Linked DNA regions of Homo sapiens: all the other regions are linked to region 1. The links are contacts of gene promoters, found by promoter capture Hi-C in human tissues and cell types (Jung and others, 2019). All regions are on one chromosome and are shown on one strand. The core of a region is centred on a gene start or on the middle of the fragment in contact, and the rest is flanking DNA. Distances in the headings are between cores, read along the strand shown. Region 1 holds the start of LIN7B (lin-7 cell polarity scaffold B). Region 2 overlaps DBP (D-box binding PAR bZIP transcription factor). Region 3 has its middle 12 kb from the start of FGF21. Region 4 holds the start of SLC17A7 (solute carrier family 17 member 7). Region 5 holds the start of PTH2 (parathyroid hormone 2). Region 6 overlaps LOC101928295 (a long non-coding RNA gene).

Evidence for each region. Contacts are between HindIII fragments. The study calls those that stand out against the background at their distance.
Region 2: a contact is called between a fragment that was not itself captured here and the fragment with the promoter of LIN7B in region 1, in 1 of the 25 tissues and cell types used here (lymphoblastoid cells).
Region 3: a fragment that was not itself captured here is called in contact with the fragment with the promoter of LIN7B in region 1 in 2 of the 25 tissues and cell types used here (heart left ventricle and lymphoblastoid cells).
Region 4: a contact is called between the fragment with the promoter of SLC17A7 here and the fragment with the promoter of LIN7B in region 1, in 4 of the 25 tissues and cell types used here (dorsolateral prefrontal cortex, lymphoblastoid cells, small bowel and 1 more).
Region 5: a contact is called between the fragment with the promoter of PTH2 here and the fragment with the promoter of LIN7B in region 1, in 2 of the 25 tissues and cell types used here (IMR-90 fibroblasts and lymphoblastoid cells).
Region 6: a contact is called between a fragment that was not itself captured here and the fragment with the promoter of LIN7B in region 1, in 5 of the 25 tissues and cell types used here (dorsolateral prefrontal cortex, hippocampus, liver and 2 more).

What each region holds. Positions count from the first base shown.
Region 1 is chr19:49,112,293-49,116,486 of GRCh38, forward strand. It overlaps LIN7B (lin-7 cell polarity scaffold B), which reads left to right and starts at 2,078. Exons shown (of 6, transcript NM_022165.3): 1 at 2,078-2,149; 2 at 2,557-2,675; 3 at 2,968-3,039; 4 at 3,971-4,180. The coding sequence starts at 2,113. RefSeq lists a silencer at 1,898-2,477. The HindIII fragment of the contact is 18,984 bases long and covers 1-4,194 here.
Region 2 is chr19:48,630,969-48,635,162 of GRCh38, forward strand. It overlaps DBP (D-box binding PAR bZIP transcription factor), which reads right to left. Exons shown (of 4, transcript NM_001352.5): 3 at 2,476-2,687; 4 at 1-84. Among named protein-coding and RNA genes, the nearest start is that of DBP, 4.3 kb to the right of the region's middle. RefSeq lists a silencer at 3,583-3,762. The HindIII fragment of the contact is 4,057 bases long and covers 1-3,710 here.
Region 3 is chr19:48,765,751-48,769,944 of GRCh38, forward strand. No RefSeq gene overlaps it. Among named protein-coding and RNA genes, the nearest start is that of FGF21, 12 kb to the left of the region's middle. The HindIII fragment of the contact is 4,374 bases long and covers 75-4,194 here.
Region 4 is chr19:49,439,077-49,443,270 of GRCh38, forward strand. It overlaps SLC17A7 (solute carrier family 17 member 7), which reads right to left and starts at 2,451. Exons shown (of 12, transcript NM_020309.4): 1 at 2,242-2,451. The coding sequence starts at 2,303. The HindIII fragment of the contact is 22,755 bases long and covers 1-4,194 here.
Region 5 is chr19:49,421,375-49,425,568 of GRCh38, forward strand. It overlaps PTH2 (parathyroid hormone 2), which reads right to left and starts at 2,067. Exons shown (of 2, transcript NM_178449.4): 1 at 1,838-2,067; 2 at 1,045-1,268. The coding sequence starts at 1,965. The coding sequence ends at 1,094. It overlaps GFY (golgi associated olfactory signaling regulator), which reads left to right and starts at 4,014. Exons shown (of 4, transcript NM_001195256.2): 1 at 4,014-4,115. RefSeq lists a silencer at 2,183-2,386. The HindIII fragment of the contact is 12,103 bases long and covers 1-4,194 here.
Region 6 is chr19:49,377,781-49,381,974 of GRCh38, forward strand. All of the region lies in intron 2 of LOC101928295 (a long non-coding RNA gene), which reads right to left. Among named protein-coding and RNA genes, the nearest start is that of KASH5, 8.4 kb to the right of the region's middle. The HindIII fragment of the contact is 6,743 bases long and covers 1-4,194 here.

The sequences.
Region 1 (4,194 bases), core at 828-3,327:
AGGCATGCACCACCATGCCTGGCTACTTTTGTATTTTTAGTACAGACAGGGTTTCTCCATGTGGTCAGGCTGGTCTCCTGACCTCAGGCGATCCACCCGCCTCGGCCCCCCAAAGTGCTGGGATTCCAGGCGTGAGCCACCATGCCCAGCCACACTTCTTTTTAAAAACACTCGCAGCCAGACACAGCGGTTCGTGCCTGTAAACTCAGCACTTTGGGAGGCCAAGGCAGGGGGATTGTTTGAGCCCAGGAGTTCAAGACCAGCCTGAGCAACAAAGACCCCTCCATCTAAAACAAACAAAAAAAGAAGATAAAATTTAAAAACCCCTCTTCTCATGGTTTCTCCCACCTGGGTTTCTGCCTACATTTCAGGCCATTCTCTGCTGTCCTCCTGACTTTTAAGTGTTAGAGAGGTCTGGGGACCAGTTCTAGGCCGTCTTAATATTCGCTTGCCCCTGACATTCTTATCCACTCCGGTGGTTTTATTTACCACCTATGCCCCAATATTCAAACATGCCTGCAGACCAGGTTGCTCTTTTGAGCCCTAGACCTAGATCGATAGTTTCTCCCCATGGATTCTGCATAGGCTCCTCAAATTCAAAATATCCAGTATCGGCCAGGCAAGGTGGCTCGCGCCTGTAATCCCAGCACTTTGGGAGGCTGAGGCAGGTGGATCACTTGAGGTCAGGAGTTCGAGACCAGCCTGGCCATCATGGTGAAACCCCATCTCTATGAAAAATACAAAAATTTGGCAGGTGTGGAGGTGCACACCTGTACTCTCAGCTACTCAGGAGGCTGAGGCAGGAGAATTGCTTGCACCCGGGAGGCAGAGGTTGCAATGAGCCGAGATCACGCCACTGCACTCGAGACTGGGCAACAGAGGGAAGACTGTGTCTCAAAAACAAAATATCCAGTATCCCTCTTTCAGTGTAGACCATCTTAAAAATGGCACCAAAGCACCTTAATACTGTCTTCTCCTGCACCTCCCAATCCCCTTATATAGCCAAGCACCAAGGCTTGTCTAGACATTTCCCACATCTGCCCACCCATCTTCTGTGCTTTGGCCCTGGTGCTAGCTGCCACCTGGATGGCTGTGGTAGCCTCGTAAGTTGCCCCGCTGCTTCTCCTCTTGTTCTTGTCCAAACCAGTCTCCACAGTGGCTACAGTGATTTTTTTTTTTTCAATAGATACGAGGTCTCACTATATTGCCTATGCTGGTCTTGAACTCCTGGGCTCAAGTAGTCTTGCTGCAGCCTCCCAAAGCGCTAGGATTACAGGTGTGAGCCACCGTGCCCGGCCCCAGTGATCTTAAAATACAAATTTGAGGCCCAACCTGGGCGACAGAGCGAGGCTCCGTCTCAAAAATAATAATAATAATAATATAATAATAATACAAATTTGAGTGTCATATTTTTCTCTTAGGAGTTTGCATGAAGCCCCAAATCCTCAAGGCGCATATGCCAACGCAGGAGCCCAGGCATAAACTATCCTGCCGACCTTTTCACCTCATCATCAACCAATCCTAACTCTGCTTCCAGCCACGTGGGCTCTTTCTGGGTGGTGGGGGTGACCCAAGCTCCACCTCTTGTTCATCTTACCTCCCAGGACTGTATGTCAATGTCCCTCCTCTAGGATTTCCTTCGTTTTCTAGATCATCACCTCCCCACTCTCAGCTCTCATCACAGCCGTAGTTGGTCGTCTACCTCCCCTATAGACTGGAAGCTTCGTTCGGGCCGTGGGCTTGGCTGTCCTGCTCACCACGGTGTCCATGACTTGGGCTCAGATGTTTCACAAGAGTTTGTTGAATGAATGTGGGGAAAGGATGGACAGGGGATAGACGGGTGTGGAGGGCAGGCAGACACGGATCCTGAAAGGTACACACAGACCGAACCTGCAGTGGGAGGGGTCGCCAACAGGACCGACTGGCCGGGGCGGAGGGCAGGGCGCGGCTGGCGCGCGGCAGGTGGTCGGAGCAGTCGGGCGAGGGAGAGCTGGGCGCTCTCCAGGCTGCGCCTCCGCAGGGGGCGCCCGTGGCCCGGGGCGTGGCCTCGCGCAGCCCCGCCCTCCTCGCCGGCGCCAGGGCAGGCGGGCGGCTGGCAGCTGTGGCGCCGACATGGCTGCGCTGGTGGAGCCGCTGGGGCTGGAGCGGGGTAAGCGTGCGCCAGGGGGCCCTGCCCACCCGGGCCGCGGCCTACATACCCAGCCCCCGGTCCCCGCCCTTCCCGGGTCAGGCCAGTGCGGGTGGGCCAGCGGACCCGGAGGGGGTGGGCGGGGCGGGCGCCGGGGCCGGGCGGTCGCTAGGTGTGGGAGGCTCCCTGGGCGCGGGCCGGGACGCTGGGCGCCCGCCTTACAACCCGGCCTGTGGAGGGGTCCCGGGGCCGCAGGGCCGCTGGTGGCAGTCTCTCCTGCGCCACCCTGGACTCTGCGGGGTGTCCGACTAGGCTTCGGCCGTCCTCCCCGGACTGTGCGCTCGGCCTCACTCCGCCGCTCTCCTTGCTTCTCTGCGTCTCGGGGTCTCTGACACTCGGGGTTTCTGCGCCCCGCCCCCGCCCCGCAGACGTGTCCCGGGCGGTTGAGCTCCTCGAGCGGCTCCAGCGCAGCGGGGAGCTGCCGCCGCAGAAGCTGCAGGCCCTCCAGCGAGTTCTGCAGAGCCGCTTCTGCTCCGCTATCCGAGAGGTGAGGGGCGCGCGGCGCAGGGGCGCGAGCTGGTGGCCGTCGTCCTCCTCCTCCTCCTCCTGCTTGTCCCGAGCCCGGAGACTACGCCTCCCGGCAGCTCCCGAGGCGGCCCGCCTTGGGGTGCCAACGCTTCAGCTCAGGGGTTCTTCGGGAGTTGTAGTTTTCTCGGCCTTCTGTTGCGGGGGCGGGGCGGATCCTTGCGTGGTAGCGGGAGAGGGTCTAGAGGCCTGAACTCCTGCGTCTAGGGCTGGAGGAGCTGGCGACTCCCTGATGCCGCTGCCTCCTCACCCAGGTGTATGAGCAGCTTTATGACACGCTGGACATCACCGGCAGCGCCGAGATCCGAGCCCATGCCACAGCCAAGGTGGGCCCCGCACCCCATTGCTCCTGGTGTCTATTTAACTGCCTAGTCGAACTCAATATCTCCTTCATGCCAGTCATTTCTGTTTCCTCCCTCATGATTTTTGCTAAATCTATGTGCCACCTTACTATTAGTAAATAATCGCACATTTTTAACTTAAATGTCATACTAAGGCATCTTTAGCAACTGCAAATGGAAACAGTATGGCATGGTTGGTAGAAGATAACCTTCAACATCTGTACAGTGCAAACCAGGAAACTCATGGCGCTCTGACCTCTCACTGCACAATAGTTAGATGCTGCTACCTCTTGCTGCTGTCCGGAGGCTCAGATCTCCCTCCAGGCCTGGCTTTCCTCTGTTTAAAAGTAAGATTGAGGCCAGGCACGGTGGCTCACGCCTGTAATCCCAACACTTTGGGAGGCCGAGGCAGGTGGATCAGTTGAGGTCAGGAGTTCGAGACCAGCCTGGCCAACATGGTGAAACCCCGTCTCCACAGAAATACAAAAAAAAAAAAAAAGAAAGAAAAAGCCGAGCGTGGTGGCGAGTGCCTGTAATCCCAGCTGGATTACAACTCCGGAGGCTGAGACAGGAGAATCGCTTGAACCCAGGAGGCCGAGGTTGCAGTGAGCCGAGATCATGCCATTGCACTCCAGCCTGGGCAACAGAGTGAGACTTCATCTCAAAAAAAAAAAAAAAGTAAGATTGGCAAGTATGGGGTATTCAAGACACACACCAAATGGACACTTTCTCTTGCAAGTGAACAGAAAGAGACGCACAGTCATTACAGGGGGATCGTGCATTGTGCCATGACAAGTGTCCCATGCTTGGGGATAGTAACCCAGGCTAAATCGCTGTCCTCGGTCCACATCCCCCACCCCAGCTTTCATGCCTACCTGGAAGGGGCCCTCATCTTCAGTCGCTTTCTCTCTCCCAGGCCACAGTGGCTGCCTTCACAGCCAGCGAGGGCCACGCACATCCCAGGGTAGTGGAGCTACCCAAGACGGATGAGGGCCTAGGCTTCAACATCATGGGTGGCAAAGAGCAAAACTCGCCCATCTACATCTCCCGGGTCATCCCAGGGGGTGTGGCTGACCGCCATGGAGGCCTCAAGCGTGGGGATCAACTGTTGTCGGTGAACGGTGTGGTGAGTGGAGGGCT
Region 2 (4,194 bases), core at 432-2,931, 480 kb before region 1:
CTGGTTCTCCTTGAGCCGCCGGGCGTCACGGGACCGCTTGGCTGCCTCGTTGTTCTTGTACCGCCGGCTCCAGTATTTCTCATCCTGCAGGAGAAGAGGGGGAGAGCACTGAGGTCCAGAGGGACCCAGGTCCCAGCGAGAGAGGAAGGGAGCCCCAGCAGCGGGGCCTAAACCACACCAGGTCTCTGCTGGGATAGGTACCCAAGGGTCTGCCTTTCTAGGGCCCTGGTTGCTAAGGAGATTGGGCCCCTAGCAACAGTAAAGGCATGAGATAGACCCCCCACCCTCAAGCAACTCGCTTCAAGTCTCCACTCTGCAAAGCGGACCCCAGCCCTCCCCACATGATAAAGGCCTGCATGCAGTTAGCTCTTGCTTGCTAAGGATGCTTGTTCCCTAGCAACAAGGCCTTCATGGTCTGAGGGCTTCTCCCAATGAAGAGCACTGCCCTGCCCTGCACATTGCCTTTCCAGATCCTGGTTGCTAAGGAAAGCTTGGTGCCCTGGTGATGGGGTTTGGTGTCCCATAAAATCCTCGCAGAGCTGGGGCCTTCTGACCTGGTTGCCAAGGCAACCTCATCCATCCTTGGCAAACAAAAGTGAGGTCTAAGTGGTTTCAATGACTGTGGCCAGCCTCTGACCTGCTGGCCTTGAACTGAGGCCAGAGAATAGCCTCCTCCCCAGTAGGACCTGACTGAGAGAAGAGCTGTCTCTTAGGAAAGGGGACTATCCTGAGACCTCCCCAGAGGATTATACCTAAAGTCCTCCCATCCTGGAAGTTGGTTCCTAAGGAAGACTCCTCCTTAGTAACCAAGGACCACGGGGCTCAGAAAGATGCTCTCTACTCCACTATTTAATTAAAGCCCAGTTCCTGCTTGTGAGGGTAAATCCAGTCCCTAGCAACAGGGCCCTCTAGAAGGAGAAACCACTGGTGTAGATCTGACTTCCAGGCCAGTCCTAGGTGCTTCAAGTAGCTATGTGTTACGCAAGGGTATGGCAAAGTCTTGTTTGTTTTTGAGATGGAGTCTCGCTCTGTCGTTCAGGCTGGAATGCAGTGGCATGATCTCGGCTCATTGCAACCTCCACCTCCCAGGTTCAAGCGATTCTCCTGCCTCAGCCTCCCAAGTAGCTGGGATTATAGGTGCCCGCTACCATGTCCGGCTAATTTTTGTTCTTTTTTTTTTTTTTTGAGATGGAGTTCTCACTCTGTCGCCCAGGCTGGAGTGCAGTGGCGCGATCTCGGCTCACTGCAACCTCCGTCTCCTGGGTTCAAGCGATTTTCCTACATTAGCCTCCCAAGTAGCTGGGACTACAGATGAGTGCCACCATGCCCAGCTAATTTTTGTATTTTTTTGTAGAGACGGGGTTTCACCATGTTGGCCAGGATGGTCTCCTGATCTCGTGATCTGTCCGCCTCGGCCTCCCAAAGTGCTGTGATTACAGGTGTGAGACACCACACCCGGAACATTTTTGTACTTTTAGTAGAGGCGAGGTTTCACCATGTTGGCCAGGCTGGTCTCAAACTCCTGACCTCAAGTGATCCGCCCACCTCAGCCTCCTAAAGTGCTAGGATTACAGGCGTGAGCCAACGCGCCTGGCCCGGAATGACAAAGTCTTGTAACAGAAGCCCAAGCAACTCTTGCTAGGGAAGACTCCAGTAATGGCAAAAAACAAAATCATGCAAAGATGCAATGACTGCTCAAATCACCCCAAATCAGAAAGTGGCACTGGCTGCTAACAGAAGCCTGAAGTCTCCCACCAGTGAGAAGTCCAGGCCCAGGAAACAAGGCCTAAAGGGGCTGGCACAGTCTTCATCCTAGCCAAATGCAATCACTCCAAAGGAAGTCCCACATCAGAGATCAAAGGCCTGCTGAGTAAGGAGAGACAGGCCACAGGCTGATATCCCATTGCCAAAGGAAGACTGTCCTTTGCAAGTGTGCCTGGTGGAGCTCTGGACCCAAGTAATAGGAGAAGCTCCAAGTCTCTACAAGTAGACCTAGCAGAGCTGGCTGAGTCAGCACCCCACAGTGACACTGTCTTTTGTTTTAAGACAAGGTCTCCCTCTGTTGCCCAGGCTGGAGTGCAGTGGTGTAATCTTGGCTCACTGCAGCCTCAATCTCCCAGGCACAAGCAGTCCTCCCACCTCAGCCTCCCAAGTGGCTTGTAGAAATGGGGTTTTGCCATGTTGCCCAGGCTGGTCTTGAACTCCCGAGCTCAAGAGATCCTCCTGCCTCAGCCCCCTAAAATGCTGGGATTACACGAGTGAGGCCCCTCGCCCAGTTGACACTGTCTTTATAAACCTCAGGCCCCTGCCCCCTTGTGCCCCGTGGCCAAGGAGGACTAATCTGTGGCTGCAGGCCAGGAGAGGCTGAGCACTAATCCCAAGGAGAAGCCCAGGCTTGACTGTGAGAAAAGGCCCCTCCCTGGCTGTGGGGCATGTCTCCAGCCAAGTCTATCTCCCACATCCAGCTCTGCTCACCTTCTGCTCCTCCGGCACCTGGATTTTTCTTGCCTTCTTCATGATTGGCTGGGGCTTAAGTTCCTCTTCTGAGAAGCGATGTCTTCGAGGGTCAAAGGTCTCGTGGCCAGGAATGCTTGATAGGGCAAGATCAGCTGGGTCGGGTTCAAAGGTCATCAACACCTCCACGGTGTCTGGGTCCACAGGGCTGGGTGTGTCCCGAGAGGTCAGGCCTTGGGGAAACAGCACGTGTCAGCTGAGTGTGTATTTTAAGGAGGGGGTTTCCTGAAGCTACTTTTTGCTGTGGTATCATAGCCACATGGAAAGTCCTTCTGGGATCTAGCATAAATTCGGCCAGGGATTAATCTCCCTAATATAAAATATGAAGGTTCCCTTGGCCAGGCGCAGTGGCTCACGCCTGTAACCCCAGCAGTTTGGGAAGCCGAGGCGGCGAATCACCTTTAGTCAGGAGTTCAAGACCAGCATGGCCAACATGGAGAAACCTCATCTTTACTAAAAGTACGAAAATTGCCCAGGTGTAGTGGCGGGTGCCGGTAAGCCCAGCTACTAGGGAGGCTGAGGCTGGAGAATTGCTTGAACCCGGACCCTGGAGGTGGAGGTTGCAGTGAGCTGAGATCATACCACTGCACTCCAGCCCGGACAACAGAGCGAGACTCCGTCTCCAAAATAACGAGAAAAATGAAGGTTCCCCTAAGCCATAAAGATGCTTAGAGATCATGGAGCCATATCCACCTTTACAAACAAGGAAACTGAGTCCCAGTCATAACTGACTTGCCCTAGGTAACACACGAATCAGGGCTATTGCTTCTACACTTGATCTTAGCCAAAAGGCCGAGAAGCGATGGGGCTATTGCTTCTAAAACCTCAGGACTTCAGATGCACAGTCTAGCCTGAATCCTACTTACCGAATCCACGACCTAAGCTTAGACCCCAGACTGTCCAGAGAAAAAGAATCTACTGCACTGAAAAGCTCTCAAGTTAGAGTCTAAGAGCTACTCGCTGGAAAGAGGAGGAGAAGCTGCTCTAAGGTTCCAGAAGATTGGTTCGAAAGGAGGCGCCTGTACCTTTAAGCACCAGCCAGCCGGGGCCAGCTAAGGACACAGGTTCAGGGCCGAGTCACGTGCTGACGCCTGCTTCCCTCCTCCTCCCTTCCTCCCAGGCCCCCGCCATCGGCGCCCTCACGTTCCCCCGGCCCCGCCCCCCTCGCGCTTGAAGGCGCCTGCGCGAAGCGCGGAGGAGGGATGGGAGGACTCACGTGGCGCAGGAATGTGCCGCTGGGAAGGGTAGGGCCCTGGTTCGGCCCGGAGGTCGGACCTGGAGCAGGTGTGCCCAGGAATCCCCGACCTGCAGTCCGTCCCTGGAGACCTCAATGTGCCCAAAGGGAAACATCTTTCCTCTTGCTCTTCCAGTCACTTAGTTCCACTCAACCTCCAAAGATTCCCAACCCCCTGCTCTCCGGGGAGCATCGGCCTCCTGGACCTTCCCAGAACCCCCGCCACTGGGCTACCACGATTCTGGGATCCCAGGCCTCTCCTAGGAATATAGGAAGCTTGGCCCCAGCCCCAATTGGAGGATCCAGAAACAACATCCCTAACGTTTTCCCTTCTGAAGAACTCTGGGACCCGGGGCTGCAGCACGCCCCACTGGGGGACCCAGGGACCTGGGCTGCCAGTCTCTTATGTCCTGGGTAAACAGAATTCTGTGCCTCTCCTTTGCCTT
Region 3 (4,194 bases), core at 1,012-3,511, 350 kb before region 1:
CAGGAGGCGGAGGTTGCAGTGAGCCAAGATCATGCCACTGCACTTCAGCCTGGGCGACAGAGCGAGCCCGTCTCTCTCTCTGTCTATATATATATATACACACACACACAATAAATAAATAGGTTGGCTCTTTGCTGTTTCCCCACAGTACTGTATTCAATATATAACCACTCAGCACAGCCACCTCTCCAATGTTCAGGAGCAAACTCTTATCTCCTTGGTTCTTGCCCCCACCATTATCAGAACCTTCCCTCTGTTTTACTCTCTGAGCGCCTGCCAAGATCAGTTTGGGTTTTGTTTCTCTATTAGTTTTCACCCGTGTGGAGCTTCGTCCTTCCAAGAGGGAGGTTCTACTGAGTGAGCACTTCCCAGATCCCTGGGGAGCCAGGCTATTTAGCATCTTTCAGCTTCTCCACCGCACCCTATCCTCACCTACTCACTGGAGCCCCTAGAGATTTGACTACTGTTCTTGTTTTCTTTTCTTTTTTTGGGGGGGTGGGGGAGGGGGACAGGGTCACTGTCGCCCAGGCTGGAGTGCAGTGGCATGATTTTGGCTCACTGCAACCTCTGCCTCCCAGGTTCAAGCAATTCTCCTGCCTCAGCCTCCTAAGTAGCTGGGATTACAGGTGCCCCCACCTCGTTAATTTTGGGGGGTTTTTGTTTTGCTTTTTTTTGAGAGAGAATCTCGCTCTGTTGCCCGGGCTGGAGTGCAGTGGGCTCACTGGAACCTCTGCCTCCCGGGTTCAAGAGATTCTCATGCTTCAGCCTCCCAAGTAGCTGGGACTTCAGGTTTGCGCCACCATGCCCAGCTAATTTTTGCATTTTTAGTAGAGACAGGGTTTCGCCATGTTGGCCAGGCTGCTCTCCAACTCCTGACCTCAAGTGAACTGCCTGCCTTGGCCTCCCAAAGTGCTGGGATTACAAGCGTGAGCCACTGCACCTGGCCCTGGCTAGTTCTTTTAACTTTTACTTTGGTACAGACAGGGTCATGTTGGCCAGGCTGGTCTTGAACTCCTGGGCTCAAGCAATCCTCCCACCTCGGCCTCTCAAAGTGCTGGGGTTATAGGTGTGAGCTACCACGCTTGGCTCTTTGTCTTAATTTCCCTCTTCCTATAAGGACACCAATCATATAGGACTTAGCGCACACCCCAACCCGGTATAACCTCACCTGAACTTGATTTCATCTACAAAGGCCGTATTTCCAAGTAAGGACACATTCAGCGGTACCAGGTAGACATGAAGCTTCCAGGACGCTATTTCCCCAATGCACACCTCTACACGGAGTTAGTCACACTCCTCTTCTTCTTCTTTTTTTTTTTTTTTTTAAGACAGTTTCTCTCTTGTTGCCCAGGCTGGAGTGCAATGGCATGATTTCGGCTCACTGCAACCTCTGCCTCTCGGGTTCAAGCAATTCTCCTGCCTCAGCCTCCCAAGTAGCTGGGATTACAGGCATGTGCCACCACATCTGGCTAATTTTGTATTTTTAGTAGAGACAGGGTTTCTCCATGTTGGTCAGGCTGGTCTCGAACTCCTGACCTCAGGTGATACGCCTGCCTTGGCCTCCCACAGTGCTGGGATTACAGGCGTAAGCCACCGCACCTGGCCTCACACTCCTCTTCTTTTTCTCTCATTTAAGTGAGCCGTACCCTTAGGAGGAAGTTGCACAGTTGACATTAGGGTGGGCCAGGATAGCTTTCTGAGCCTTAAAAATCTTAAAAGTTTTGCCGGTCACAGTGGCTCACGCCTGTAATCCCAGCACTTTGGGAGGCCAAGGTGAGCGAATCCCCTGAGGTCAGGAGTTCCAGACCAGTCTGCCCAACAAGGTGAAACCCTGTCTCTACTAAAATTACAAACATTAGCTGGGCGTGGTGGTGCACACCTGCGGTCCCAGTTACTTGGGAGGTTGAGGCACAGGAATCTCTTATTTATTTTTTATTTTTTATTTTTTTTGAGATGGAGTCTCGCTCTGTCGCCCAGGCTGGAGTGCAGTGGAGCGATCTCGGCTCACTGCAAGCTCCACTTCCCGCGTTCACGCCATTCTTCTGCCTCAGCCTCCCGGGTAGCTGGGACTACAGTCACCCACCACCACGCCCAGCTAATTTTGTTTTTGTATTTTTAGTAGAGACGGGGTTTCATCATGTTAGCCAGGATGGTCTCGTTCTCCTGACTTCATGATCCGCCTGCCTCGGCCTCCCAAAGTGCTGAGGCACAGGAATCTCTTGAACCCAGGAGGCAGAGGCTGCAGTGAGCTGAGATCACGCCACTGCACTCCAACCTGGGCAACAGAGCAAGACTCCATCTCAAAACAAAACAAAAAAACTATCTGGGCATGGTGGTGGGCACCTGTAATCCCAGCTACTCGGGAGGCTGAGGCAGGAGAATCGCTTGAACCCAGGAGGCGGAGGTTGCAGTGAGCCAAGATCACACCACTGCACTCCAGCCTGGGTGACAGAGCGAGCCCCTGTCTCAAAAAATTAAATATATAAATAACAAATAAATAAATAGGCTGACTCTTTGCTGTTTCCCCACAGTATTGTATGCAATATATAACCACTCAGCACAGCCACCTCTCCAACGTTCAGGAGCAAACTCTATCTCCTTGGTTCTTGCCCCCACCATTATCAGAACCTTCCCTCTGCTTTACTCTCTGAGCGCCTGCCAAGATCAGTTTGGGTTTTGTTTCTCTATTAGTTTTCACCAGTGTGGAGCTTCGTCCTTCCAAGAGGGAGGTTCTACTGAGTGAGCACTTCCCAGATCCCTGGGGAGCCAGGCTATTTAGCATCTTTCAGCTTCTCCACCACACCCTATCCTCACCTACTCACTGGAGCCCCTAGAGATTTGACTACTGTTCTTGTTTTCTTTTCTTTTTTTTTCGGAGGGGTGGAGGGGGACAGGGTCACTGTCGCCCAGGCTGGAGTGCAGTGGCACAATCTCAGCTCTCTGCAACCTCTGCCTCCCAGGTTCAAGCAATTCTCCTGCCTCAGCCTCCTAAGTGGCTCAGATTACAGGTGCCTCCACCTGGCTAATTTTTTGGAGGTTTTTTGTTTTTGTTTTTGTTTTTTTTGTTTTTTTTTTTTGTTTTTTTTTGAGAGAAAGAATCTCGCTCTGTTGCCCGGGCTGGAGTGCAGTGGGCTCACTGGAACCTCCGCCTCCCGGGTTCAAGAGATTCTCGTGCTTCAGCCTCCCAAGTAGCTGGGACTTCAGGTTTGCGCTACCATGCCCGGCTAATTTTTGTATTTTTAGTAGAGACAGGGTTTCACCATGTTGGCCAGGCGGCTCTCAGAACTCCTGACCTCAAGTGATCTGCCCGCCTCGGCCACCCAAAGTGTTGGATTACAAGCGTAAGCCATTGCACCTGGCCGAAAACCAATCTGTATCATAACCCCACGGCACCTGAATCATTTCTAAGTGTACAGTTAAGTCGCGTTAAGTATATTCACATTGTTGCACAACCAATCTTCAGAATTTTTTCATCTGATAAAATTGAAACTCTCTGCCGCAATTAAATCCCACTTCCCCAATTCTCCTCCCTTCAGCTCCTGGCCACTTTTTCCAGCCCCATTTGTTGAAAACATGGTGGTGAGCTCCTTGAATGACTGAGAAGCTTTTGTACATGGACAGGAAAATTCACAACAATTTGTTTTTTTGTTAATGATCAATGAATTTTTAAACAATTATCTTTCCTTTAAACATTCACAGACTACTTCTACAGCTAAAAATAACAAGCCACAAATTTCACAATTGTAGATTTCGCCTAAATATTTGAACAGTGATTGCACATTTAATCAGTGAACTTTTCACAAATCTGATATTGTGGTTTCCCTTAAATGCCATGAATAGGAGAAAAACAGTAATACACTCTGTCATACTTTTCACAAGTCTGATATACCAGATTCTTACAAATGCTTTAAATATTTTCGAGAAGGCTGGGCAAGGTGGCTTACACCTGTAATCTCAGCACTTTGAGAGGCCAAGGTAGAAGGATCACCTGAGCCCAGGAGTTCTAAACCAGACTGGGCAACATAGCAAAAGCCCATCTCTACCAAAAAAAAAAAAAAAAAAATTAGCCAAGTGTGGTGAAGCGCACCTGTAGTCCCAGCTAGTTAAGAGGCTGAGGTGGGAGGATCACTTGAGCTGGGGAGGTCAAGGCTACAGTGAGCTGTGATCACACCACTGCACTCCAACCTGGGTGAT
Region 4 (4,194 bases), core at 1,201-3,700, 330 kb after region 1:
GGATACCCCAAACTCAGGCCTGGGGACTTGGCGATGAGGAAAAACAACACTTAGGAGGCCATTACCCCAAATTGAGATGTCTCAACTTCTCTGTCTCTCCCTCTCTCTCTCTCTGCTTCTCTCAGGATCTCTGTCCACTCCCCCACGTCTTTGTCTCCTTATGTCCCTCTGCTCTCTCTTCTCTTCCCATTGTACAACTAAGGAAACTGAGGCTCGGGGAGCTGAAGTGGCACTCCAAGGTCACAGACAAGAACAGCAATGGGACCTGATCCCTTACTGGCCCTCGGCATCCCCCTGCCCAAGACCTGGCTCTCAGAAAGGAGGCACCTTGGGTTCTCATCTCTCTGGCATCCCATTCCCCCATGTCCTTGTTCCAAGTCACCCTGGGTGCAAGGAAGCTCCCCACCAGCTGTGGCATCACTCTTCTCAAGGAAGAGCTCTGTTCTAGGCTTGGGAGGGAGACTGACCTGGGTTCAAATCATGGGGCTCATACTCATCCACTGATCTCCCCAACCCCAGAATGGAGCCTCAGTTTCCCCATCTTTGTCTAGAGGATTAAATGAGATCAACCTGTTGTCTCTAATATGGGGTATTCCCCTCTCCCTCCAACCATCAGAGCAAACCCCAGGCATTGGAAGCAAATGCTTTTCTCTGCACAAACTCCCTGCTGATGGTCCTGGCCAGAGCCCGGGGGTCTCTGGGGACCCAAGAGGTAACTCAGAGAGTGAGAGCCAGAGAGATTGACTGTGAGAAACCCTAGCACAGATGAGAAACAGAGGCAGAGACTGAGGGAGGGGCCTGAGGAATACATCCCTCCCGCTGCCACCCCCCAGCCCCCTCCACCAGCACGTCTCTTTCTCTCTCTCTCATTCTCCTGACTTCACACTGATGTATTTTGAGAAACTCGTGAAAGGAGGCGAGAAAAAGGGTGGGGAGGGGCTGGAAAATTGGAAAAAGAAGGGGTGAGGTTATCTCAGCTTCCCCTCCACCACCAACCTCCGTCACTGCACCATCCTCCTGCCCACCTCCCCCCACTTCTGTCCAGCCTTATTCTTGTCTCTCATGTTACTAGAGGGTGGGGTAACTTTGGAGCTAAGAGGTGATCTGCAGCAAGCAAGACTGATGTTAGACTTAGCAAAGGACCCCCATGGCCTAGCGAGGTGGACTGAAGCTCAGCGAAACACAGGGTCAGGGCTGTGGGCCAAGGGGACAGGGCCTGAGGGCACGGCGGCAGGGGCATGGTGCTGATGAGGCCATCTCCTTCGTGCACTGTGGCCAGATATATTTTTAGGCTTTTCCGCAGCTGAGTAATTTATCTGACTTAGAGCCAAAGCTGGGGTTGGGGGTGAGAGCCTGTGGGGAGGTGTCCAGATTATCCTGAGGGACACTCGGTTCACTGGGGTCATCAACCTGGTTGGGAGGGAGTCCCTGTCAGCCCCAGCCTGTATCCTTTGGGAAGGCTGTCCTACCCCAGGAGCCGAAATTTTTGGCCTCTAACTCCTTTCTCTCCCAGGGACCCAGGGTGCTGTGACTTCTTCCACCCAGCCTCACCCCCTCAAGGACAACGGGCTATGAGCCCCAATCCGCTTTAGCTGCAGATTAAACTCCATGCCAGACAGAAACGGAAAAAGACACAGAGAGACGGAGAGACCCATGGTGGGAGAATTAAAACACAGAGACGGGGACAGGGACCCAGAGAAGTGGGGACCAGAGATCCAGGGAAGAGGAGAGACCCAGAAAGAGGGGGACAGAGACTCTGAGTCAGGAGTTGATAGAGATCCAGTGAGAGCAATGGCCAGAGAACCAGAGAGAGGGGCACAGAGACGCAAAGAAGCGGAGGCAGAGATCTAGGGAGAAGGAGGGGCCCAGAGAGAAGGGAGCCGAGATCTGGAAAAAGAGGGAGACGGAGACCCAGAGAGAAAAGGGGCAGAGACATCCAGAAAGAGACGGGGACAGAGACCCAGAAGTGGTGGGGGAGGAGCCAGAGACCCGGGAGAGAGGCATTTACAGCACCAGAGAGAGTGGAGCCGGGTGGGGTGGGGTGCAGAAAAAGGAACAGGATAATGGACAAGGCTCGACCAGGGAGAACAGCGCCGTCGGAGCCCACGGCAGAAAACTGGACAGATGGGTGGACCCCCATGCCGGGGTATCGCCCGTTCATCTGTCAGTCTGCGCCCAGGTGGGAATTAGCATCCTCCTCAGATCCTCCCACTCTTCTCCCGGGACCCCCGCCAGGCTCACCGGTGCAGCTTCCCGAGAGCACGACCCGCTAGCTTCCGAAACTCCTCCTGGCGGAACTCCATGGTGGCGGCTCCTGCCGCCGGTCACCCCGCGGGTCCCCCCCGCCGATCCCCCCGCCCGCGGGCCCGGGCGGCCGCGTCCGGGTTCCCGGGGTCCAGCCCCGGCCCGGCCGGCCCCGCAGCTCCGCTCGGGGGGAAGGAGGCTGCAAGTGCAGGCGGCCCGGGGGCTGTCACAGGACTCAGCGCCGGGGGCGGGGCGCGGGAGGCCCCGCCCCGGCCCCACCAGGCCCCTCCCCTCGTCTGTCAGACCCGCCCCCTCTCGCAGCCCTTTCATCCTCGTCCTGTCCCCTCCTGAGCCTTCCAAGACCACGCCTGTGGGTTCTGAACTCACGCCTCCGAGTTCACGCCCCCCAATTCTGTTCCTTCCCCAGGCTACTCCCCCTATCCCTGTTCCATCACCCCTGGCTCCTACCCAGATTTTCTCTCCTCTCCTGAGTTCTCATCCCCATCATTTCTCTCCCCGACTTCTGTTCCCCCTAATTGCGTCCCTTACAATCCTGTCTTCTCTGACTTTCCCTCTGCGTTCATCCTCCAGTTCCTTCACTCCTCCCCGCCCCCACCCCGCAATTCCATCCCCATCCCACCTCGTCCCCAGTTCCAATAGTCTCATCCAGGGAGTTCTTTGTTTTCTCATTCAAGGGAAATTCTTTCCCCTCAAGTCCAACGCCTACTTCGATCCACCTGTCGTCCCCCTCTAGTCCCTTTCGCCACCCGGGTTCTTCACCCTTGAGCTCCATCTCCTCCTTAGTTTCCATCTTTCCCCTTTGAATCCCATACTCCTCCAGCTCTATTCTCCCTCCGGCGTCTCTCTCCTCCCTGTTGCTTCTCTCCCTGAGTTTCATTCCCTAACCCCGATTTTCTTCCCTCTGGCTTCCGCCCCCCACAGTTATATTTCACACACCCCGCCAGTGCCAGCTGCGACCCCATAGTCTCCCCATTGTGTTATTTCTCTGCTCCTCTGGGATCTGTCCGCGCTCTGAGTTCTTCCCTAGCTCCGGGGGATCCATTCCTCTATTTGAGTTCTGTCTCCACCCCCTGAGATCTGTCCCGCCCCCTAAATTGTGATCCGCACCCCCTGGCATCCTCACCCGCCCTCTGAATTTGTCTCCTCCCCTAGGATCTGTCGCTGACCTGAGTTCTGCCCCCGCCCTCTGAGTTCTCTCCCCACCGTTGGAGTTGTGTCCCCTTCTCCTAGGATCTGTCCCTGGCTCTGTTCCCGCCCTCTCAGTTCTGTCCTTGCCCCCTGGAATCTGTTCCTGCCATCTGAGTTCTACCCCTTCCCCACAGGATCTATCTCTGCCCCCTGGAATCTGTCCCCACCCACCGAGTTCTGGCCTCCGTCCCTGGGATCTGTCCCCGCCCTCTGTGTTCTACCCCTGCCCCATGGGATCTGTCCCCGCCCACCCAGTTCTCCCCGCCCCCTGGATCTCTCCCTACCCTCCCAGTCTTGCCCCGGCCCCATGGGATCTGTCCCCGCCCTCCGACTTCTGACCCTCGCCACTGGGATCTGTCCTCGACCTCCCAGTCCTGCCTCCGCCCCCGGAATCTGACCCCGCCCACCGAGCTCTGGCCTCCGCCCCTGAGATCTGTCCCCGCCCTCCCAGTCTTGCCCCTGCCCCATGGGATCTGTCCCCCGCCCACCGCCTCCGCCTCTGGGATCTGTCCCTGCCCTCCCAGTCCTGCTCCCACCCCCGGAATCTGTCCCCGCCCACCGAACTCTGTCTCCACGCCGGAATTCCAGCGCCGCCCCGTTGGGTAGAGCCCGGCCCTTCCCTGTCCTGGGCCCGCAGACAGGGTCCCGCCCCGCTCCTGTCCTCAGACCAGCCCATCTCCCGGCGCTGAGTCCACCTCCAGATCCAGGCCCCAGGAGGGTGATCCTTTCCCCACTACCTCC
Region 5 (4,194 bases), core at 817-3,316, 310 kb after region 1:
GGCTCTTTTCTCGCTTCACCTGCAGCCCAGGTATCTTCCCGCCCTTTCCCTGTCCTTTTTGGAGCCTGACGCCTGCTCCTTTCTCTTCTCCTGCCCCAGCCTGGCGCCCCGAAGGTCTCTAGAGAAGGAGACCCGAAGTCAGAAAACCCTGAAAAAAATTGCTGGACGCTGCTGTGAGAAGAGGAAACCCTTTTCAAATAAAAGCGTTTTGCTACGTAACGGGCGCTGTACTGAAGTCTTATGAAGTATATCTTATTGGATCCTCGTAACAGATGAAGAAAAGGAGACACAGAGACTGACGTCAAGAAGGCTTTCTCAGTACTACGCAGCTAGATTTGGAGGACCCTGGGTTTGGATGCTAGGGCTGCCTCACACCAGAGCCCGCGATCTTTCCACTGTGCCTGGGGAGAAGTCTGGAAGTGATGGGAGGGAGGAACAGCGAAATTCAAAGATGAGAGCTGATGGAGAGACAGATAGAAACCTAACGGAGGAAAGAAAAGGAAGATATGAAGGAGTCAGGCAGAGGAAAAAGGAAAAAAGAAAGTGATGGAGAAGGGAAGGAAGAGTTTCAGAGGCAGAAGGAGAATAGAGAGAGGAGGCAGAGATTCCCAGAAGACCAGAAAGCCAAAAGGGTGAAAGGGGAGATAACCACAAGGACCCAGGGAGACGGGGACACATACCCAGAGAGGAAAGAGACCCAGAGAAAGGGACAGAGACGGAGGAGGACAGAGACCTTGGAGATTACAGAGAACCAGAGAGAAGGGGACAGAGATGGGGGTAGGGAGGGACAGGGGCCCAGAATGAAAGGAGGGGGCGGGGGGGTGGGGGCGATAGGGAAGCAGAGATCCAGAAATAGGAAAGAAGCCAGCTTCCTGGACAAAGACAGGCAGAGAGAAACGGAATTGAGGAAAGAAAATAGAGTGGGGACTGAGGAGAGAGATGCCAGAGTGGCCGACACAGAGTCCTGTCTCTTTTCTACCCCCCATTTCAAGCCCCGCGCCCCCAACCCAACGCACACGCAGGTCGCGCAGGAACTAGGCGCAGTCCGGAGCGCAGGGCATGGTCTTTATTAAGATGGGGACGGGCAGCGCGCTCAGGGCGCATCCAACACCAGCAGCTTGTGCATGTACGAGTTCAGCCAGTGGCGGCGCTCGAGGGCGGCCAGCAACCGCGCGCGCTCCCGGAAGGCCGCGTCGTCCGCCAGCGCCAGGCTCCTCCGCGGCCTGGGGGTGGCGGGATCCGCCCAGGCCCGTCCTGGGGGGCGGAGGCTGTGGAGAGACGCGGTGACCGCGCGTCCAGACTCGCTCTTGCCGCCGCCTGTCCTCCCCGCGGTCTAACTCGAAGCCCCGTTACTGCCCAGTCCGTGGAGTGGCTCGGTCCGGCTCCCCCTGTCTCTCTCGTTCTCTGTGTGGGTCTCTGTCTCTCTGCTCACCAGGTTCGAAACTCCCCAGGTACTGAGACCGAGTCTGATGCACTTGTCCGCCCACAGCGCTCAGCGCATGGCCAGGCGCACACCAAGAACCCAATAAACGTTGCTCAAAGAATGAATCCGTTTCTGCAACGACTCCTTTCGAGCCTCTCCACGCCTTTCTCGGGATCTATCTTTCTGTGTCTCTTTCCCTTGCTGATTTTCTGTCCATTTCCCGCACCACCACTACCACCAAACCCTCCTCCCGCCTTCCCCCACCCCTAGTCTCTGTCTTCTCGCTGGGTCTCGGTCGCCCTCTCTTTGGGCTTCTGTTCCGCTTTCTGGATCTTCCGTCCCCTTTCTCTTTGGTTCTCTTCCCACTTCTCCAAGTTCCCACCCCTCCCTGGGAGTTCTGGGACTGGCACCTACCTGAGGACCCCGACCGGGGGCAGGGCGACTCCCGAGGCAGTGCGGACGCCCCAGGGCACCACCAGCAGCAGCAGCAGCAGCAGCAGCAGCCGAACCCGAGGGCTCCTGGACACCTGGCGGGTCTCCATCACCTGTGGAGAACCAGAAAGGGGCTCAGTAGGGCTGCATCCCGGCCCAGAACCCCGGGCCCCACCATGCATCCACCCCCAGCTTCCCGCACAGTCCCCTACCGTGCAGTGGGCTGGGGCAGCGATGGTGGCAGCCCCCTTATATCGCCTCCGCAGCCCCCGCACCGGGCAGTGACGCAGGCCGGGGGGCCGGGGACGCGGGGTCACCCCCTCCCCAGGCTCATTAGGAGCCGCCAGCGGTAATGAGGAGCCGGGGGTGGGGGACCTGCCGCTGCCTTGGCCGCCACCAACTAATTGGGACCAGAAGCTGGACCTGAGACGAGGGAGGGGGAGAGACAGACAGACAGAGAGGTGGACACAGGGGGTGTGTCAGAGGGCTAAAAATAGAGACTGGCGGAAGGACCGTCAGAGGAACAGAGACACAAAGAGAAGGACAAAGACAGAGTGGCCGAGGAAGAAATAGAGAGAAAGAATGGGAACGACAGAAAAAGAAAGGAAAAGGAAGAAAACAAGAAAAGAGAGCGAAGGAGATGGAAACGAACAGTCAGATGGAGATGGAGGAGGGAAAGAAAAGGCTCTCAGAAAGACAGACGGAAATGGAAGGACGTCCTGGTCTGGAAGGAGCTGCCCAGAGATAAATACAGCAGCGAGAGGCCCAGAAAGATCGAGGGTGAGGTAGGGAGGGGGGAAAGGCAAGAAATGGCAAAGGGTACGTGTGGCAGGGGTGTGAGGACAGGAAAAGTGACAGACCACATCAGAAAAACCTCAGAGAGTGAGAAGAGGGGAAAACAGACAGGGCTCCTGAGCTGCCCTAAGGATGTGTCTAAGCCCTTATCTGGGAGGAGTTTGGGGGTGCTGTGAAGATTAAAGCCCAGTCCTCCTCACACTGACTCTTTTTGTGTGTGTGTGTTTGTCTGTTTGAGATGGAGTCTTGCTCTTGTTGCCCAGGCTGGAGTGCAATGGCACTATCTCGGCTCACTGCAACCTCCACCTCCCAGGTTCAAGCCATTGTCCTGCCTCAGCCTCCCGAGTAGCTGGGATTACAGGTGCCCACCATCACGCCCAGCTAATTTTTGTATTTTTAGTAGAGATAGGGTTTCGCCAAACTGTTGGCCAGGCTGGTCTTGAACTCCTGACCTTGTGATCTGCCCTCCTTGGCCTCCCAGAGTGTTGGGATTACAGGCGTGAGCCAGCACACCCAGTCCACACTGACTCTTAAGAGGGGCCTCAGCCGGGTGCTGTGGCTCATGCCTGTAATCCCAGCACTTTGGAAGGCCGTGGTGGGTGGATCACTTGAGGTCAGGAGTTCGAGACCAGACTGGCCAACATGGCGAAACTCCTTCTCTACAAAAATACATAAATTAGGTGTGGTGTAATCCCAGCTACTTGGGAGGCTGAGGCAGGAAAATCGCTTGAACCTGGGAGAGGGAGGTTGCAGTGAGCTGAGATCGCACCACTGCACTCCAGCCTGGGCAACAGAGTGAGACTCTGTCTCAAAAAAAAAAAAAAATTTAAAAAGAGGGGCCTTTATACACAGTGAGGAGAAGATGGGCAAAACTTGGAAGTCCTACAGAGCAGTAGAAACTTGGGATGTGGGAACTTGGGCTCCTAGTTTCCTAGGAAGGTGGTGGCAGAAGCTTGGACTCCTGAGTCTAAGAGTGGATGGGACAGGGACCCAGATTCCTATGTTCTGGGGAAGGAGGAGGCTGGGGACTTGGATTCCTGAATCTGAGGAAGGAAGGAGCTAGAGGACTGGAGTTCTGAGTCTGGGGGGAGGGAGCTGGGGGATACAACTTAGGGGACTTGAAATAGGAAGGTACCAGGGAACTAGACCCCTGGGTTTTCAGGTAGGAGAGGGTAGAGGGCCAGGACCACTGGTTTCAAAAAAATAATTTGGGCCACATCTCCACTAGATCAATCCAGTTTCTAACTCCCTTCCCCACCCCAGAGAAAATGTCCTTTACTTCTGTCCCTTTAAGAGTCTAAGTCTGTCGCTAGGCTCCCAGGATCCCCTGGGAGGGGGTGAGGTGCGTCACCTGTGTGCCCCTGAGACCCTACCTCCCACCGCCCTGCCCAGATCTGTTCTGCAACATTCACCGTTCTCTGCATCCAGCTCTGCTTATCTGCTGTTACCTTGGACACCAGAGCAGGTAAGAGACCCCAGGACCTCAAGTAAGCCTGTCCCATCGATGTGTCGGCCGCCTCCACCTCCACCTGAACACAGACCTA
Region 6 (4,194 bases), core at 1,070-3,569, 270 kb after region 1:
TGGGATTACAGGCGTGAGCTACTGTGCCCGGCCAGGGATTACATTTCTTTTTTTTTTTTTTTAATTTTTTATTACAGAACAATTATTATCTGTCATCAAACTATCCTTTCAGATTCATTTTGAATACCTCCTTTCTTTTTTATTTTTCTTTGAGATGGGAGTCTCGCTCCGTCGCCCAGGTTGGAGTGCAGTGGCGCCACCTCGGCTCACTGCAATCTTTGCCTCCCGGGTTCAAGTGATTCTCCTGCCTCAGCCTCCTGACTCACTGGGACTACAGGTGCCTGCCACCATGCCCGGCTAATTTTTTGTATTTTTAGTAGAGACAAGGTTTCACCATGTTAGCCAGGATGGTCTCCATCTCCTGATCTCGTGATCCGCCCACCTCGGCCTCCCAAAGTGCTGGGATTACAGGCATGAACCACTGTGCCCGGCCTCAATTGGTCATTTCAAAGTTACTTTACTTGTGGCCAGGTGTGGTGGCTCACGCCTGTACCCCAGCACTTTAGAAGGCTGACGCAGGTGGATCACCTGAGGTCAGGTGTTCAAGACTAGCCTGGCCAACACAGTGAAACCACGTCTCTACTAAAAATATAAAAAATTAGCCGGGCATGGCGGTGGGTGCCTGTAATCCCAGCTACTCGGGAGGCTGAGGCAGAAGAATTGCTTGAACCCAGGAGGCGAAGGTTGCAGTGAGCCGAGATCACACCACTGCACTCCAGCCTGGGCGACAGAGCAAGACTCCGTCTCTAAAAACAAACAAAAAAACAAACAAAGTTACTTTACTTGTAAAGGTTAAAACAGAGGGGACTTCCTCATCATGCTAGCTAGAAGATGTGGCTATTATCTCTCTCTCCTGTCTCCCCTAAATTCTCAGAGGTCATATAACTTAGTTTCAGCTTGCTGACATGGAACTGTAACATGAGTGACTCCACTGGTCTCTTGGGCCTAGTGCAGGAGCTCGGTCCAAACCAATGGCTTCCTGTAAAATTTATTTAACAAGGCAAATCTACAGAGACAGAAAGCAGATTCATGGTTATGTGGGGCTTCACGGAAAGGAAGGTTGAGTTAGGAATAATGGCTAAGAGATGTAGGGCTTTGTTTTGGAGTGATGAAAATGTTCTAAAATTAATTGTGATGATTGTAGAACTCTGTGAGTACACTGAAAACCACTGAATTATACACTTTAAATGGGTAAATTATGTGGTGTGTGGATGATAACTCAATAAAGCTGTTAAAACAATTAGTTAATTAATAATTCTATTAAACAGTTTACCCTGAACAACTCAGGGCTTAGGGGACTAACCCCCTGTGAGGTAAAAAATCTGAAGATCAATTTTGACTCCCCAAAAACTTAATGACTAATAGCATGCTATTGACCAGAAGCTTTACATAAACAGTAGATGAACACATATATTTTATGATATATGTTTTTGGGGATTTTTTTTTTTTTTGATACAGGATCTTGCCCTGTCACCCAGGGTGGAGTGCAGTGGCACAATCATAGCTCACTCCAGGCTCGACCCCCCTGGTTCAAGCGATCCCCCCTCCTCAGCCTCCCAGGTAGGCAGGACCACAGATAAGGCTCTCACAACCACACCTGGCTAATTTTTGTATTTTTAGTAGAGATGAGGGTTTCACCATGTTACCCAGGGGTGTCTCCAATTCCTAGGCTCAAGCGATCAGCCCACCTTGGCCTCCCAAAGTTCTGGGTTTACAGGCGTGAGCCACCATGCCTGGCTGTGTTATATGTATTATATACTATATTCAAACAATAAAGTGAGCTAGAGAAAAGAAAATGTTATTAAGGAAATCAGAGGAAGTTAGGAGAGGGTTAAAAAAAATAAAATCGCCGGGCACGGTGGCTCATGCCTGTAACCCCAGCACTTTTAGAGGCTGAGGCGGGAGGACCACCTGAGGTCAGGACTTTGAGACCAGCCTGACCAACATAGTGAAACCCCATCTCCACTAAAAATACAAAAGTTAGCTGGGCATGGTGGTGCATGCCTGTAATCCCAGCTACGTGGGATTGTTCAAGGATGAACTGTATAAGTCACAATGGATCTGCTTCTCTGAGCAAACCCTAAAGGATAAAGCATTATTCAGCTTGTTGCAGTCTGCCAATCTAAAAAGGGTAGTTTCCTGTTGCTTTAATTGGAATGTTTCTGGTTACTGATCTTTTGAGCTCCTTATCACATATTTGTTAGTTTTTTGGATTTCCCCTTCTGTAAATTGCCTGCTTTTCTGTAAATTCTTGGTCATTTTTTTCTGTTGGGTTGTTATCTTTTTCTTTTTGATTTGTAGGAGTTCCTTCAATCACCTACCTTTTAATCCCTTGTCAATTTTATTTTTTTATTTTATTTATTAATTTTTTTTGAGACGGAGTCTCACTCTGTCGCCCAGGCTGGAGTGTAGTGGTGCGATCTCAGCTCACCACAACCTCCACCTCCCAGATTCAAGCTATTCTCCTGCCTCAGCATCCCAAGTAGTTGGGATTATAGGCATGCTCCATCACATCTGGCTAATTTTTGTATTTTTAGTACAAAAATACAAAATCTCTTGGCCAGGCCGGTCTCAAACTCCTGACCTCAGGTGATCTGCCTGCCTTGGCCTCCCAAAGTGCTGGGATTACAGGCATGAGCCACCACGCCCAGCCCCTGGTCAATTTTAGACAATGCAAATATCTTCCGCTCGTCCATCATCTCATCTCTCATGATCTTGGCCCTTGGGATCCTTGATGAATAGAAACCCTTAATACTGATGTAATCAAATTAATTTTTTTGACTTATGATTCATCCTTTTGAGATCCCTAAAAGAAGTCATTAATACTTTCCTACATTTTCTTTTATTAACTTTATAGTTTTACCTTTTGCATTTAGTGCTTTACTAGCAGCTGGTCTCCACTTTACATTATTATGTTATAGAGGAGGAGGGGCCTGAAAGCCTCTCAGTGCTCAAGATCTTTGAAGACTTAACTGGGCATTAGCTCAATTAGAGAGGAAGAAAGCAGTAGAGGATGGGGATGGACCACTATCTCCTGGGCCTCGCTTCCCCCAAGAAAATCCATGGACCCACCCACAACCACTACATCTCAGACTATTTCAGCATCTTCCTCCCAGTGGCTTCACACACCTGGGTGAGACCCCCAACATCTACTCAGTTACCAGGTCTGGTATTCCCTGATATCATCCTGATTTTTTGACTGGAAAAAAAGTGTTAATTCATAAGACTTTGGGTTTTTTTGGGGGGGCAGGGGCAGGCGATGGAGTCTCACTTTGTCACCCAGGCTGGAGTGTAGTGGTGTGATCTCAGCTCACTGCAACCTCTGCCTCCTGGGCTCAGGTGATCCTCCCACCTCAGCCTCCTGAGTAGCTGGGACCACAAGCATATGCCACCATGCCCGGTTAATTTTTATAAATTTTTTTTGTAGAAAGGTGGTTTCTCCATGTTACCCAGGCTGGTCTTGAGCTCCTGGGCTCAAGCGATCTGCCTGCCTCAGCTTCCCAAAGTCCTGGGATTACAGGCATGAACCAATGTGCCCAGACCCCCAACACTATTCTAAGCAGTGGGGATTAAGCAGTGAATAAACAATGCCCCAGCATCATGGGATTTGGTGGGGGAGAGAAACAATAAATATGTATCAAGCAATGGCAAATGCTGTGAAGAATAAAGCAACATGAGGCAGAAAGGAAACTCTGAGGGGACCGAGCTCATCTTAGATAGGGTAGTCTCTCTGATATATACACAGAGGGAGGCACTCTGATATATACACAGAGACTGAACTGGGGTAATGGAGCAAATCCGGTCCATGGTAAATCTGGAGAAAGAGACTTTCAGGCTGAGGGAATAGCAAGTGCAAAGGTCCTGAGGTTGGAAATGGCTTGGCTTGATCAAAAACAAGGAGGCCAAGGTGGACAGAGCAGTTATTGATGGAGATAAATAGGGGATAAGATCACAAAAGTAGACGTAGGGTACAGGAGAGCAGACCATGCAGGGTCTTTGGAGCGTAGTGAGGAGTTTTTATGTTATTCTATTTAAAATGGGAAGTGAGCTAAGTGTTACAATTAAAGAAGTAACATATATGTATTTACTGATCAAAAAGATTATCCGGACTTTTGCTTGTCACTATGATGGAGTAGCTAGTAGCTGACTAACTCCCCACCAAAAACTATAAAAGCTGAATACAAGCTAGGCATG